Regions from separate parts of the Homo sapiens genome. Here all the other regions are linked to region 1. Evidence: promoter capture Hi-C in 16 types of primary human blood cells and fetal thymus (Javierre and others, 2016). All regions are on one chromosome and are shown on one strand. The core of a region is centred on a gene start or on the middle of the fragment in contact, and the rest is flanking DNA. Distances in the headings are between cores, read along the strand shown.

What was found. Contacts are between HindIII fragments. The CHiCAGO score rates a contact against its expected background, and 5 or more counts as called.
Region 2: a fragment that was not itself captured here is called in contact with the fragment with the promoter of FLJ46875 in region 1 in 2 of 17 cell types (non-activated CD4 T cells and activated CD4 T cells); the score reaches 9.8 in non-activated CD4 T cells.
Region 3: a fragment that was not itself captured here is called in contact with the fragment with the promoter of FLJ46875 in region 1 in 3 of 17 cell types (activated CD4 T cells, M0 macrophages and non-activated CD4 T cells); the score reaches 6.1 in activated CD4 T cells.
Region 4: a contact is called between a fragment that was not itself captured here and the fragment with the promoter of FLJ46875 in region 1, in 1 of 17 cell types (naive CD8 T cells). The highest score is 5.1, in naive CD8 T cells.
Region 5: a contact is called between a fragment that was not itself captured here and the fragment with the promoter of FLJ46875 in region 1, in 2 of 17 cell types (monocytes and M2 macrophages). The highest score is 8.6, in monocytes.

The regions. Positions count from the first base shown.
Region 1 is chr2:156,340,854-156,343,389 of GRCh38, forward strand. FLJ46875 (a long non-coding RNA gene) reads right to left here and starts at 1,267. Exons shown (of 1, transcript NR_147695.1): 1 at 1-1,267. RefSeq lists enhancers at 172-727, 728-1,281, 2,489-2,536 and silencers at 829-928, 1,469-2,078. The HindIII fragment of the contact is 3,407 bases long and covers 572-2,536 here.
Region 2 is chr2:157,892,562-157,895,097 of GRCh38, forward strand. All of the region lies in intron 1 of LOC105373714 (a long non-coding RNA gene), which reads left to right. Among named protein-coding and RNA genes, the nearest start is that of ACVR1, 18 kb to the left of the region's middle. The HindIII fragment of the contact is 1,143 bases long and covers 698-1,840 here.
Region 3 is chr2:157,463,499-157,466,034 of GRCh38, forward strand. LOC105373712 (a long non-coding RNA gene) reads right to left here. Exons shown (of 4, transcript XR_923513.3): 4 at 1,048-1,529. Among named protein-coding and RNA genes, the nearest start is that of CYTIP, 21 kb to the left of the region's middle. RefSeq lists an enhancer at 273-1,472. The HindIII fragment of the contact is 2,773 bases long and covers 1-2,536 here.
Region 4 is chr2:157,445,648-157,448,183 of GRCh38, forward strand. No RefSeq gene overlaps it. Among named protein-coding and RNA genes, the nearest start is that of CYTIP, 2.8 kb to the left of the region's middle. The HindIII fragment of the contact is 5,425 bases long and covers 1-2,536 here.
Region 5 is chr2:157,421,835-157,424,370 of GRCh38, forward strand. The region is part of intron 6 of CYTIP (cytohesin 1 interacting protein); the gene reads right to left. Among named protein-coding and RNA genes, the nearest start is that of CYTIP, 21 kb to the right of the region's middle. The HindIII fragment of the contact is 3,981 bases long and covers 1-2,536 here.

The sequences.
Region 1 (2,536 bases), core at 17-2,516:
GCTCTGGAAGTCATATTTTCCATTTCTCCATACTTCATCTATTAATCAGTTGACTGGCAATTTCCGACACCAGTTTTGCTAAACTTTATAAATTTTGCTTCCTCCAGAGGTAGGAGGGGGAAGGAGATGGGCAATACAGAAACAGATTTTACAGCCAGAATATGACAGGGCCCCTTAAACTACAAATAGATGTAGAATTTTAAATGTAGCTCTGTAGTTCAATTTATACCACAGAAATTGCGAGATGCTATCTTCCTGTTGTTATAACGTATCAGGTCAAGGGATATAAATTGTACCAGGTAATTCATTTTGCTGTTCAGAGAGTCATTAAGTTCCTCCCAGAATATATGTGATTGATATCCCTGGAGGTGAAAGGCTAAAGGAACCATATGGCAACATGTTGCATTCCGTATGCTATCTGCCCATCCGTGCTTAAGCTGTCATTAGCAACATCTGTACCTTACGGAAATCCAGCTGCGCCGACGACGGCTGACGGAATTGTACTTGGGGGGAAAATCTAGCTTAGCGCCATTAACTTGAGACTTAGAGTCTATCTACCAGGACGGATGGAAGCTTTCACAATTAGACGAGACGACACGAATGCTTTATTAAAGTTTAATTTTGAACTCCCAATTAGCGAAAGTGCATTACAAATCGATTGCAATTTCCTAGAAGGTGCAGCAAGTTCTCTGCCTGCCTGCCACGTGCGAGACGCTCCACAGCGAGCTTCCCCAGCTCCGGGCAGCAGAAAGGGGATGGTTCAGAGCCGATCTCCGCATCCCAGGAAGTCCCTAAAATCCGCGCCAGCCCCTCCTCCCGCAGGGCGGGGGCGTCCACGGCGCGAACCCGCCAGAGGTGTAGGGGGAAGTGTGGGGGGCTGGTCCGCAGCCTTCGAGGGGTGGGGCGACAGGAGCGAGCGGCCGGGGGAGGAGAAAAAGGCGGGCGGCGGGAGAGGGGGCCTCTATTATCTCGGCTTCTCGGGAGGAGCCTCATCTAGTCAGTCACGCAGAAGTTTCTCTTTCGCTCTTCGCGCTACACACCCAGATTGGCTTCCAGCGCGCAGGCGAGTGGGGCGAAGGAGGGGGGACAGGAGTCCCGGAAGGGCCGTCCGGCGTTCACACCCACCCCTGTTCCGCTCCTCCCGCCCCAAACAAAGTCCCCCGACTCTAGGTCCAGGATACGTTACCTGCCCGGCGCTCCCGGCCCCTCGGTCACCGCATCCCCCGCTGGGCGCGCCTGGTACGGGTCCCGCTCCCCGGGGCTCACAAAGTGGTCGCCCCTGGCTGGGCGGCTGGGTAGATGCCCCTCTCTGGACATGTTGGGGCGGTTTTTGGGGTGGAGGGAACGCGGGAAGTGAAAGCGGAGGCTGGGACAAGGGGAACTTACTGATAAAATGGAAAAAAAAAAAGCCCACAGGGCCCAGGTCCTGGCCGGGGGCGAAAGAGGCCTGTTACCTTTCGGGGGGTCGCGGCCGACCAAGAAGGGAGCCGGGGAGTCGCCCGCCCCCCTCCCCCGGCCCCCGGCCCCCGGCCCCCGGCGGCTGCGGCAGCTGCACACAGAAGCCCATTGTCGCCGGCGTCCGGCGCGCAGCCCCGCGGACTCGGCCCCGCGGCCAAGCGCGTCAGCGGCCCCGTCAGCCGGGCCGGGCTCCGTGACGCGCGCGCAGCCCGCGCTATAAATAACCTGCCGCCGGGCGGCTCGGGCGGCTTTCCAGTGACGCTGGGGCGGAGGCGCGGTAGGAGGAGGGCGAAAGGAAACAATAAAACCGCCCGGCAGCCTCCCAAGTCTCCCTCCTCCCTTCCCAGGCCGCCCGCGGCCCTTCGCGTCGAGCTCCTTTTTCCCCGCCCCGGCCCGCCCTGCGGGGAGCGCGGTTCGCGGGTGGGAAGGAGCCCGGCGTGCTGGCGTCCCCGAGTGCTGCCGGGGCCCCGGGGCGGGAGGGGGTTTTTCCCGCACCCTGGGATGGCGAGGAGGGAACTTGGCGACAAGTTTAGTGAGGGGATCGCTGTGTTCCTTTCTAGTCCAGTTAAAATGACCCGAGCTTTTCCCGCTCCCTCACACACCTATTCTAGTACAGGTCGGATGTGTTTTTGGGGTAGTAAGTCCTCAACCGAAAACAAAAGCGAAAAACCTGTCGTCTTCAACGTAAGCATTATCTAGGTTTTTGTGGGGCCAGGCTTGCATTAGTGTTTTCATTCGGGGGGTTGTATTATAGAAAGGGTGCCCCGTAGTAGCAGCGTGAGGAAGGGTTCCAGGACCCAGGCTGTCAGCTCCGGTGCATTTACAGGTCTTTTTGCCGTAGAATTTAGCATAGGCCTGAAACATGGCATAAATGAACTTTCTAAAAGTCTATAATCTCAACGTTAAAGAGCTTACTTTTTAACTCTGGACTTTAATAAAGGCTCCCACTTTAAAAGGGGCTTTCTCTATAGGAAAGTATTAATATTTTTGTGGAGACTCTCACTGCTACCTTCCATACTCAGGCAATTCTGTCACACACCCTGACACTTGTCCTACTCATTAAGGTACCCACATACAA
Region 2 (2,536 bases), core at 19-2,518, 1.6 Mb after region 1:
GTTGATACAAGGTCCGTGGAAGGCAATTTTATATTCTCTTGCAAAATTATAAATTCACATACACTTTGACCTTGGAATTTCATTCTAGGAATATTTCCTACACATATACTCACCCAATTCTGAAATGACAGATGTGGGAGGTTTTCTTTGCAGCACTATATATAAAAGCAAAAGATTGAAAACAACCTGCCTATCAATAGGATATTGAGTCAGTAAATTATGAAACATTCTTACAATGGAACACTATGAAGCTGCTTTTTAAAAATAATAATAATAATAAAGTTGTTTTCAATGTATCGATATGAACTGAGCTCCTCAATTAGCAGTAAGTAGGAAAAAGAATCCTGCAAGGTTCAGCAAAATAGATCGTATGCTACCATATGCTATCATTTAAATAAAAAAAGAGATATACGTCTATGTTGGGTAGTATAATTGGACACAAATCCTCAGAAATGGATGGGGCTTTGAACAACGAGAAGGAAGGAAAGGACAGGGCAAGATGTTTCACTATTTTGAACAGAAAAAAAAGACTATGTGAACAAATTACCTATTCAAAAGTTGAGAAGAAGAAAAGGTTGTAGGGTCTGGAGCGAGGCAGTCCTGGTCTGTATACTAGTTCTAGCACCTTTCTTTATATATTTATGTATATATTATTATTATTATTTAGAGATGGAGTCTCACTGTGTTTCCCAGGCAAAGCTTGAATTCCTAGGCTCAACCAGTCCACCCACCTCAGCCTTGTGAGTAGCTGGGACTACAGGCACGTGCCACCATGCCCATCCGGTTCTAGCACTTTCTGACACCATAACCTCAGAGTCCTTTTCTGTAAAGTGGAGTAGATAATATTACCTGCCTCATGAGCGAGAAGGCATGCATATAGCATGCAGTGGAGGTGGCACAGTGCCTGGGTCCAGTAGATGCCAGGCATTACCATGATCTTTCTGATTAATATTATCACCAACCTTCTCATAAATAACTGAGTACTTGAAGAACAGTGTGCAGTATCGTGGTGGGAGTTATGGAAGTGATTACTTAAAATTTTTCAGCTCCAAAGACATATGCTGAAGGAATCAGTATCATCAGAAGCATGTATAGAACCCCATGTCTGCACCTAGTGCTCTTCTCTGCAGAATTAACAAACAAGCACCCCCACTGAGTTTCATGTCATGTACCTCTCTTTCCAAGTTCTGATGTGGGAAGTGGAAAGATGCTGATTGGTCTGGCTTGGGGCAGGTGCCTGTCTCTGGACAAGTGAGAAAGAAATAGCAGTGCTCACAGGTGCAAGCCGTTGAAGGGAGGAGGAGCAGATCTCAGTGGATAATGAGGTGAACTGGGCAAACAGCAACTGGTCCCGGCTACTGACATTTTTGTAGCATCTCTGTTTTTGAAAAGGCGAAAGTGGGGAGGTGGGTGGGGGGTGGATATTTTCCGTAATATCTACATGATCCCAGGCAGCAGGCTGGGTGGTGCCTGCAGTGAGGGAAGATGCTGTTCCTTGCAGAAATGTAGTAGGTGTGGCTTAAAGCCTCAGCTGCTGGCTGGCCTGTGAGCTTAAGAAAGCAGAGAAGCAAGTGGACACAACCTTGAATGCACCTGAAACTTCCAGAAGCCCACAGATGCACTCCAAATGTTCCTGAAAACCTAGAAATTCTATGTAAGTTTGTCTGTATATGGGAATATACATTTTTCCAGGGAAACCCATAACTTTCATCAGATTCTCAAAGAGGGGTGCTATCCATTAAGGATTCTGAGCCCCTGCTAGACCAATGATAGCATATGCCATGACCCAAGGATTATGATTAATCCAACCCTAGAACGAGAGGCCCACACCATAAAATAAAGCTTTCCACAAAACATAAAGAATAAAAGAACCACTGCCTTGATATAGTTGCTTTTTAAGCACCCATTCTTGTACTCTCTGTTTTGCCATATTCACTTTTATTATTTACTGAATATTCCTCTTTAAATTTGTTCACTTTTTAAACTTACATGCCCAGTTTAGCCTCTTCTTAAGCAAAAATAATTGTGAAATCAGGGTTATATTTTGCTATTGCCAGTTTTCTTCCTAATGTATATTAGAAGAAATTTATTACTATTAAAATTTAAAAATGTTTGTATCATTTCCAAAATTATTTAGTGCATACAACAGAGATGGGCTTATGGCACTCAGGAAAACACTGTCTCTAAATATTCCTAAAATTCACTTCAGGCATCCCTTTCACAGAGAAGGAACCTGAGGCAGGAGACAATTAATGTAACTTATTAGAGATTCTAAGCAAATGTGGAAAAACTTTGTCAGGTATTGGGCAACATTGTTCCTACTAATGACTCAGCCCTGTGCTTATTTTATTGCAGACAGTTTAAAGAGATGTTTTACTGTTCTCACGTTTCCCCGCTACCCCATAAAGAGAACCAACTAGACGAGAGTAAAAACTTGATCAATTTAATACTCTGGTCATGATCCCAGCAACTAAGGAAGGGGGCTGTGGGGGGGAAAGCCAGCGAGTTTCTTTCTACTCAAATTCCATCTCATTTT
Region 3 (2,536 bases), core at 21-2,520, 1.1 Mb after region 1:
TCTGAGAAAGAAACCAAGAAGAAGCTAAGACCTCAGTTACAGGGTCTGGAATGGTCAGGTCAGCACGAGGACTGGCCTGTGAAGTCTTCTGATGATCTAAAGGAGTGCAGGACATGGCAGACCTGGCACTCTTCAGACCCTCAGAGAAGAACCAACTGGTTATTTCTCTTCAAGCAATCACTTAAGGTGGCACTTTCCTGAAAGGAAAGACCATTCATTATTGCTATGGATTGTCAAGGGAATTTGTAGATAGTCTTCTTCTGGGCCAGACACGGTGGCTCATGCCTGTAATCCCAGCACTTTGGGAGGCCGGGGCAGGCCGATCACGAGGTCAAGACCAGCCTGGCCAACATGGCAAAACCCTGTCTCTACTAAAAATACAAAATTTAGCTGGGCGTGGTGGTGCATGCCTGTAATCCCAGCTACTTGGGAGGCTGAGGCAGAAGAATTGCTTCAACCCGGGAGGCGGAGGCTGCAGTGAGCCAAGATCGCACCACTGCACTCCAGCCTGGGTGACAGAGCAAGATTCCATTTTGTGGGGCGGGCGGAGGGGAAGATAGTCTTCTTCTTAAGTTTTTAGTTTTTCAGTGTTAAGCAAGACCTCTGGGGAAGAGGGTTAGATGAAATCCAGTGACCACACGTAAGAACTGAGCGGTATCATTGAGCATCCATCTGGCCCTAAAAAAGCAGAGAAAGTATCCAGAATAGATTAAAATATATATCTCATTCTCTCTCTCTTTTTTTTTAAAGGGGGAGGCAAAATGGAAATTGCCCTAGCCTGAATCCTAGCATTTGCAGTAGAGAACATGCTGGAAGACACTATCAAAAATCAGTTTGTGGGGCCACAGTTCCTGCCAGAGTAACCTAATTGTCTGACTCACTTTTAATCTCAGTGGATGTGGTGAGAATGACTGATGTTGCTTAACAGCATTTAGTCTTGGTGTTAAATATGGGAAATTTACAAAAAGATTCTTATCTACGGAGGAGTGGAAAACATCACCACACAGAGATGAAAGGGCCCAAGAGAGGAGAAGGTGGGAAATGTCCCCTTCCTGCCACACGTTTCATCTGTGCATGTAGCTCCGACTGGCTTCAAAGGAAAATCTGCACCCAAGCACCCAAAAGAAGTAGCTAAGTGTGTGGTGGGACTGAACAGCAGGCCCATTACAATAGCATTCCAAAAAAAAATTTAAAAGCCAAGTATATGTATGACCTGAAGGTACTCATGGAAAAATGACAAACTATTCAAAACTGAAAAGAGGCTTACTAAAATATTGTTACCAGGTGCAAAGAGAATCATTTCTCAACATTATAGTTTTTAATACAAGAGAAGAAAGATTTGGAGCAACAAATCACAGAAAGAGCTTTTCTTAAAAAACAACGTTGTATGACTTTAATATGCAATTTTCTGTGCCCCTAATTCCCAGACTAGCTTACACATCAGATGGATCTTGTTAGTATAGTTGAAGATGGAAGGAAACATTGCTGGTTCCTCTTCTCATAAACGTACCATGTGATAGAGCTCACTTCTAAAAAGAGATGAGGAAAATAAAGGCATAAGATATATATACCATGTAACAAAACTGCACTTGTACCCCTTACATTTATACAAGTTTTTATAAAGGCAAATGTAAGTATGCTTTCTTTAAAAAACTAAAAAGATACATATACCAAAATATTTAAAGTCTTCCCATGACAGCATATTGAGTAAACAACCATTGGCACTACTATATATTTTTGCAGCTATAAGAGTCATTAGTTGTTATGTGCTAACATATAAAAGGAATCAAATTTAATATATCCAATTTGGAGGAAACTGTCCTATTGTCCTTTGTCAATTATAGGTTTTAAACATCCTTTATGAAATCACGTTTTGATGTCTTGATTTAGGAAATATGATCAGAGTAACTTGACATCAAATTAATCATACCTACTTTCTTATCATATTTGCTTTACACATTTTATAGACACAAAAACTTGAGTTGATGGTCTAGATTAAACTCAACCATTTCCTGGAGAGAATCTGCGAATATTCTGTTCAAATCAACAGCATTTAGCAAAGGCCTACAACATGTCTGGCTCTAAGTGTGGGAGAACGTGATGCTGAAGTGAGCAAAGCCTAGCTTCTGCCCTGCACGAGCCTTGAGTCTAGCAAAATAACTCAACATGCCCACCTCTACAGAGTACAAGACAGAAAACAGCACAAAGCCATTCAAAGGACACAACAGAGAAATTCATCTCCTCTTCAGAAGGGAGCCGAGGTTGCCTTTGAAGGTGAAAGACAAATTTAGAGAATCAGCACAATTTCAAGTCAGAAATGGTACCAGGGAAGAACCAGCATTTCACATGTGAATGAGAAGGAGAGTCATCAAGAGGAGAAAACTGGGAGAGCTATCAGAGATTGGCGACAAAGCTGGTATGGCAGGAATGTGGGCAGCTGCGTAAGACAGAACTACCGAGCACCTCATTGGTGTAATGAATACACTGAACTTGATTCAGTTATCAAAAAGGAATCGCCAATCTTTCTGAGTAAAGG
Region 4 (2,536 bases), core at 15-2,514, 1.1 Mb after region 1:
AATTTTTATTCTTAATATTTTAAAATGCCAAATGGAAATTATACATTTGCTTAATATAAGGCCACCCACTCAGGCCAACTGACTCACCCATTTTTATAAATGACTACTAAAATTGTACCAATTCATTGTAATACTGACCTTAAGCTGATGTAAATCATAGATCATCATTCAATTAAGAAACTGGAAAATACTTATTACTTAACTCATGAAATGTGTTAAGTAAAATTTTTCAAATAATGGGATACCTGGATACAAAACAAGGGTCAAAAGTACCTCTGACATCCAGCCAGCCCATATCAATGTGGTCACACCTGTTAATTACAAATTTTTGACCTAGTCTATTTTTATTGGTCATTTCCCTGTTCTGTCAGTGCCTGTGTCATGCCAGTCACTAATATCATGATCAAAAGTGTCCCTTGTGATAAAGGGTGGAGAAACAGTAATCTTTTAAGGGGAATGTGACTTCCAAACAACAAATCCTTGACTTACAAAGGTGTTCTACTGTTTAGAACATCTCTTTTCTTTTAGGATTTACCTTAGGAAAATTATAATAGACCAGACTCTCTTCCCCTTCAGCCTCCCATTTATTTTAGAGAGGTGATTCTGGAAATGAATTGGATCAAGCTACCTAGGTACTCAAAAGATTTCAGGAGTATCTCACTGTTCACAAAAAAATAAAATAAAATAAAAATTATTTTATATTATCTGATTTCATTCTCTGAAATGTCATATCATTTTTTTAGATTCTTCTTTTGAGACTTAATATATTCTAGTTAGGGCAATAGTTAATTGTATACAAATCTGTTTCTCTGCTAATGTCCAATTTCCTTGAAAGCAAGGAACATCTTTTATCTTTAAATGTATACTTTATGTCCTACATACAAAAATTGTTCAATAAATGTTAATAAAAAGAGAAAGGTAGATATTAAACAAAATGATTAAACAATAGTGTTCTGTGGTATTAATAAGGAAAAAAATTAATTTGGTAGGAAATGTATGTACTACAAGCCCATATTCCAAAGTGCTACAATTTTCACTAAGGGGTGATCTGAGAGATGAGGACAGAGTCTCTTAAAAATACGTCTCATCTGCCTTTATGCTCTAAAAGCTAATATTTGTTATGTGGGGCAAAGCTCTTATTTGGAACATTTTGTTCATAAATATGCAAATACCCTTGGAAGGAATTAATCTTTAGTACAAATGAGATGAACACTGAGGGCCTACAACATGGAGATTTGGTAGAGTCAGGTGAGAGGAATATACCTAAAGCACGGAACAGAGAAAGAAAGGTGGAAAGGTTTGCAAGACAAACTGAGCCAACCTTACAATCATCCATGAAAATCTTAGGCAGCTGTAAGAGGGTTGACAACAGGGTTCCAGTGTCACACTACTTAGATTCAAGTCCTAGCTCTGCTGCTTTAAAGACTATGGACTGAGTTGTATCCCCCCAAAATTCATACATTAAAGCCCTGAGCTTCAATGTGTCTGTATTTAGAGATAGGGCCTATAAGGAGGTTAATGAATCATTTAAGGTTAAACGAAGTCATAAGGGTAAGGCTCAGATCTGATAAGATTAGTGCCCTCATAGGAAGAGGTGGCAGAGGACTCTCTCTCCACCATATGAGGACACAGCAAGAAGGCAGCCTCCTGCAAGCCAGGAAGAGATCCCTCACCAGGAACTGAATCTGCCAGCACCTCAATCTTGGACTTCCCAGCATCTAAAACTGTGAGAAAATAAATTTCTATTGTTTAAAGCCACCCAGTCTATGGTATTTGTTATGCTATGGTATTGGTTATGGTGGCTTGAACTGACTAATACACTCTCTAAACTTTAGTGTTCACATATCTAAAACAAAAATTTGCAGGAAAAAATAGACAGAATAGCCCATGAATAGCACATGGTATAAAGTAAGCTATATCTACTGAATTTTGCTTTAAGTAACAAGCCTTCAAAAGGAAAAGCTAAAAAAGGATATAACATGAATTCTATATGAATAGCCCTATTCATTACTAAGTGCCTCTATGTGCAGCAAGGATGCCCTTGTCACCCTGAAGAAGTCTAAAGGCTACACAATACATGTGAATTCCTTACCATCGAATATCAAGATGTGTTTGAAAACCATCATCAGAGCCAATGTGTGAAATTTCTGGATTATTGTAAGACACAGAAGAAGAGTAACTGGTTGCTTAAAAAATGAGACTTCCTCTATGCCTTTCTGATCTTAAGATAGCTGTTGAGTTTTTTGTTTGTTTTATTTTTGCTATTTGCCTTTATTTGCACAAGAAGATTTTATCTGGCTTCCTGGAACATCACAGGATTTTGTTTTGTTGTGGTTTGGTTTGCTAATTTGTTTTATTTTGGCCTTTTGCCTTCATTTGGAAGGGAAGTTTTTATTTGGGTCTCTGGAATGATGTAGGAGATGTGTTAAAGTCATATAGACAATATTTGAATATTGTGCCTTTGAATTTATATAAGGTAAATTTGATTTAGTAAAGTTACTCTCATATATGAGGATCCACTAACTGTGAAAACTGC
Region 5 (2,536 bases), core at 17-2,516, 1.1 Mb after region 1:
CGGAATCTCATAATTTCAAGATTAGAAACAGGACAGACATGCAAGATAGAAAACAGAATGAAACTTAAAGTCTTCTGGATATGGAGAAGCAGAAATAAATTCTATGGCAATATATGGTTTAAATACACCTATCTGAAACACAGGTCTGAGACAGGTTTTCCGCTTAAGAAAAAAACATTGGCTGAAGCTCCATCACTGGGAAAGGAGGCTGAGAAAAGCTGATGCTGCTGGCTATGGCTCATGTAGAGCTTGTATGTTGAAAGGCAGGAATACCTAAACACAGCCTCGTGACCTGAGCCAAACAGCTCACTGAGTCTTCAGGAAAGGCACGGAAGCCCCCAGACCTGGCTCTGGATTGATAGCCTTGAAGTGCCAAGTGGGGGCAAGCATCCAGTTATCACATTGTGCTGAAGGGAGAGGCTATATGCCATGCAAGAGAAGTAGGCAATCTAAACCTCCAAACACAGATGTTTAATGATAAAAAAGATAATAAAATTGATAATTTGTGCATAGATTGTCTCTAAACAAAATGAAAATAGAAAAGTGTTCAAGGCCAGGTGCGGTGACTCACACCTGTAATCCCAGCACTTTGGGAGGCCTAAGCGAGCGGATCACCTGAGGGCAGGAGTTCGCGACCAGCCTGCCCAACATGGTGAAAATCCTGTCTCTACTAAAAATACAAAAAGTTAGCCAGGCGTGGTGGCAGGTGCCTGTAATCCCAGCTACTCAGGAGGCTGAGGCAGGAGAATCCCTTGAACCCGGGAGGTGGAGGTTGCAGTGAGCCGAGATCATGCCACTGCACTCCAGCCTGGGTGACAAGGGCGAAACTCTGTCTCAAAAAAAAAAAAAAAAAGAAAAGTGTCCAAAAAAGACTTTAAAATAAGAATTTTTATAATCCTCTGAGAGATATAATCCTCTGAGAGATCAATGTTTATAAGAACAAGAAATTTGAAATGACAAAACAAGAACAGATAGACATGAAAAAGAACTACAAGATAATAAGAAAGTAATTTTTATAACTCAATAGAAATAACACATTCTGTACAGAACAGCTAGCAAGAACATTTCTGGAGATGTTACTAAAGAATTCAGAAAGAATATAACACAAAAATATAAATAAAGACCTATGAAATAGTCATTAGGAAGCATGAAAGATAAATCAAGAAACTATGCCTAACATGAATTCCAGAAGATAATACAAGAGTGGTGTAGAAGGTATATTCCAAAAAGATTGAGTTGATAGTTTTCCAAAGCTAAAGAAAGTCTTTAAACAGAAAGAGCACTATAAGATCTACACGGTATAAATTTAGAAATGAATCCAGAACTAATTGCATTGTAGTAAAACCGTAGATCAATAAGGACAAAAGAATATCTTAAAGCAACCAGAAAAAGGATTAAAGATGGCCACAAATACTGGTTTTCTAGAAGATCCAAAAATAGAAAATCCCGTAGAGAAAGAGTTATCAAGAAAAAAAAAGAAGCATAAAAAGTGGTACAAACTGCAAGAAAAAAATGGGGGCACACTCAATTTTTGACAAAAATTTAAAACATCAGAATAATATTTTACTGTCAACTCAGTTAATAAATTTAAAAACTTTGTTAACAAAAACATAAGTCGCTAAAACTGTCTTTAAAAAAAACCAGAAATCCTGAGTAGTCTCACAACTAATAAAGTAATTGAAACAGTACATTAACAGTATTCCCATCAAAAAAGAATCCTAAAACAAAATGATTCAGATGGTATTATTAAAATTCTGCCAGAAAATAAGAAGAGGAAAACAGTCCCCAGGTCATGCTAAGAGTCTAGTAAACTTGATACCAAAACTTAAAAAGATAATCTAAGAAAATAAAATTACAGGCCAGTCTACCTGAAAAATGAAACTCTTTCAAAATCCTAAATACAATATTAGCAAATCGAACCTGTAATTACATTTACAAATTATAAATTTCAAGAATAAGCCAGCTTGGGTTTATCATAGAAATGAAATGGTAGCTTTATATTAGAATATATTTAAATTTCATTCACATATTGACAGAATTTTTTCAAATGAATAAATGAGAAGACCAGCTTAACAGATGCATAAAAAAAGTATTTGATAAAGTTTAATGGACAAGCACTATAAACACTACCAGCAAACTTCGTATAGAAGGGAGTCTCCTTAATCTGAAAGATAGCTCATTCCTAGTGGAAAAGAAATTAGGAAGAATTTCCTTTAAAATCAAGAATAAAACAAGGATGCCTACAACCATAATTTCTATTCATTGTTGTATGGTAGCGCCTAAGCTGTGAAGCAAAGTAAGAAAAAGAACCAAAACTCATTCATAACAGATAGTTATTATCTCTACAGTAAATCCAAAATAATCTACAGATAATTCATTAGAGTTATTAGAATAGATATTACTATTCTATAATTTAGCAAAGTGTTTGAATATAGTCACAGCACAGAAAAATTTATTTCACATGTCTATTAACGTCAATCAAAGCATTAGTTTTTGTAAAGAAACGATAATAAGAACAAAAAACATAAGGTACAGA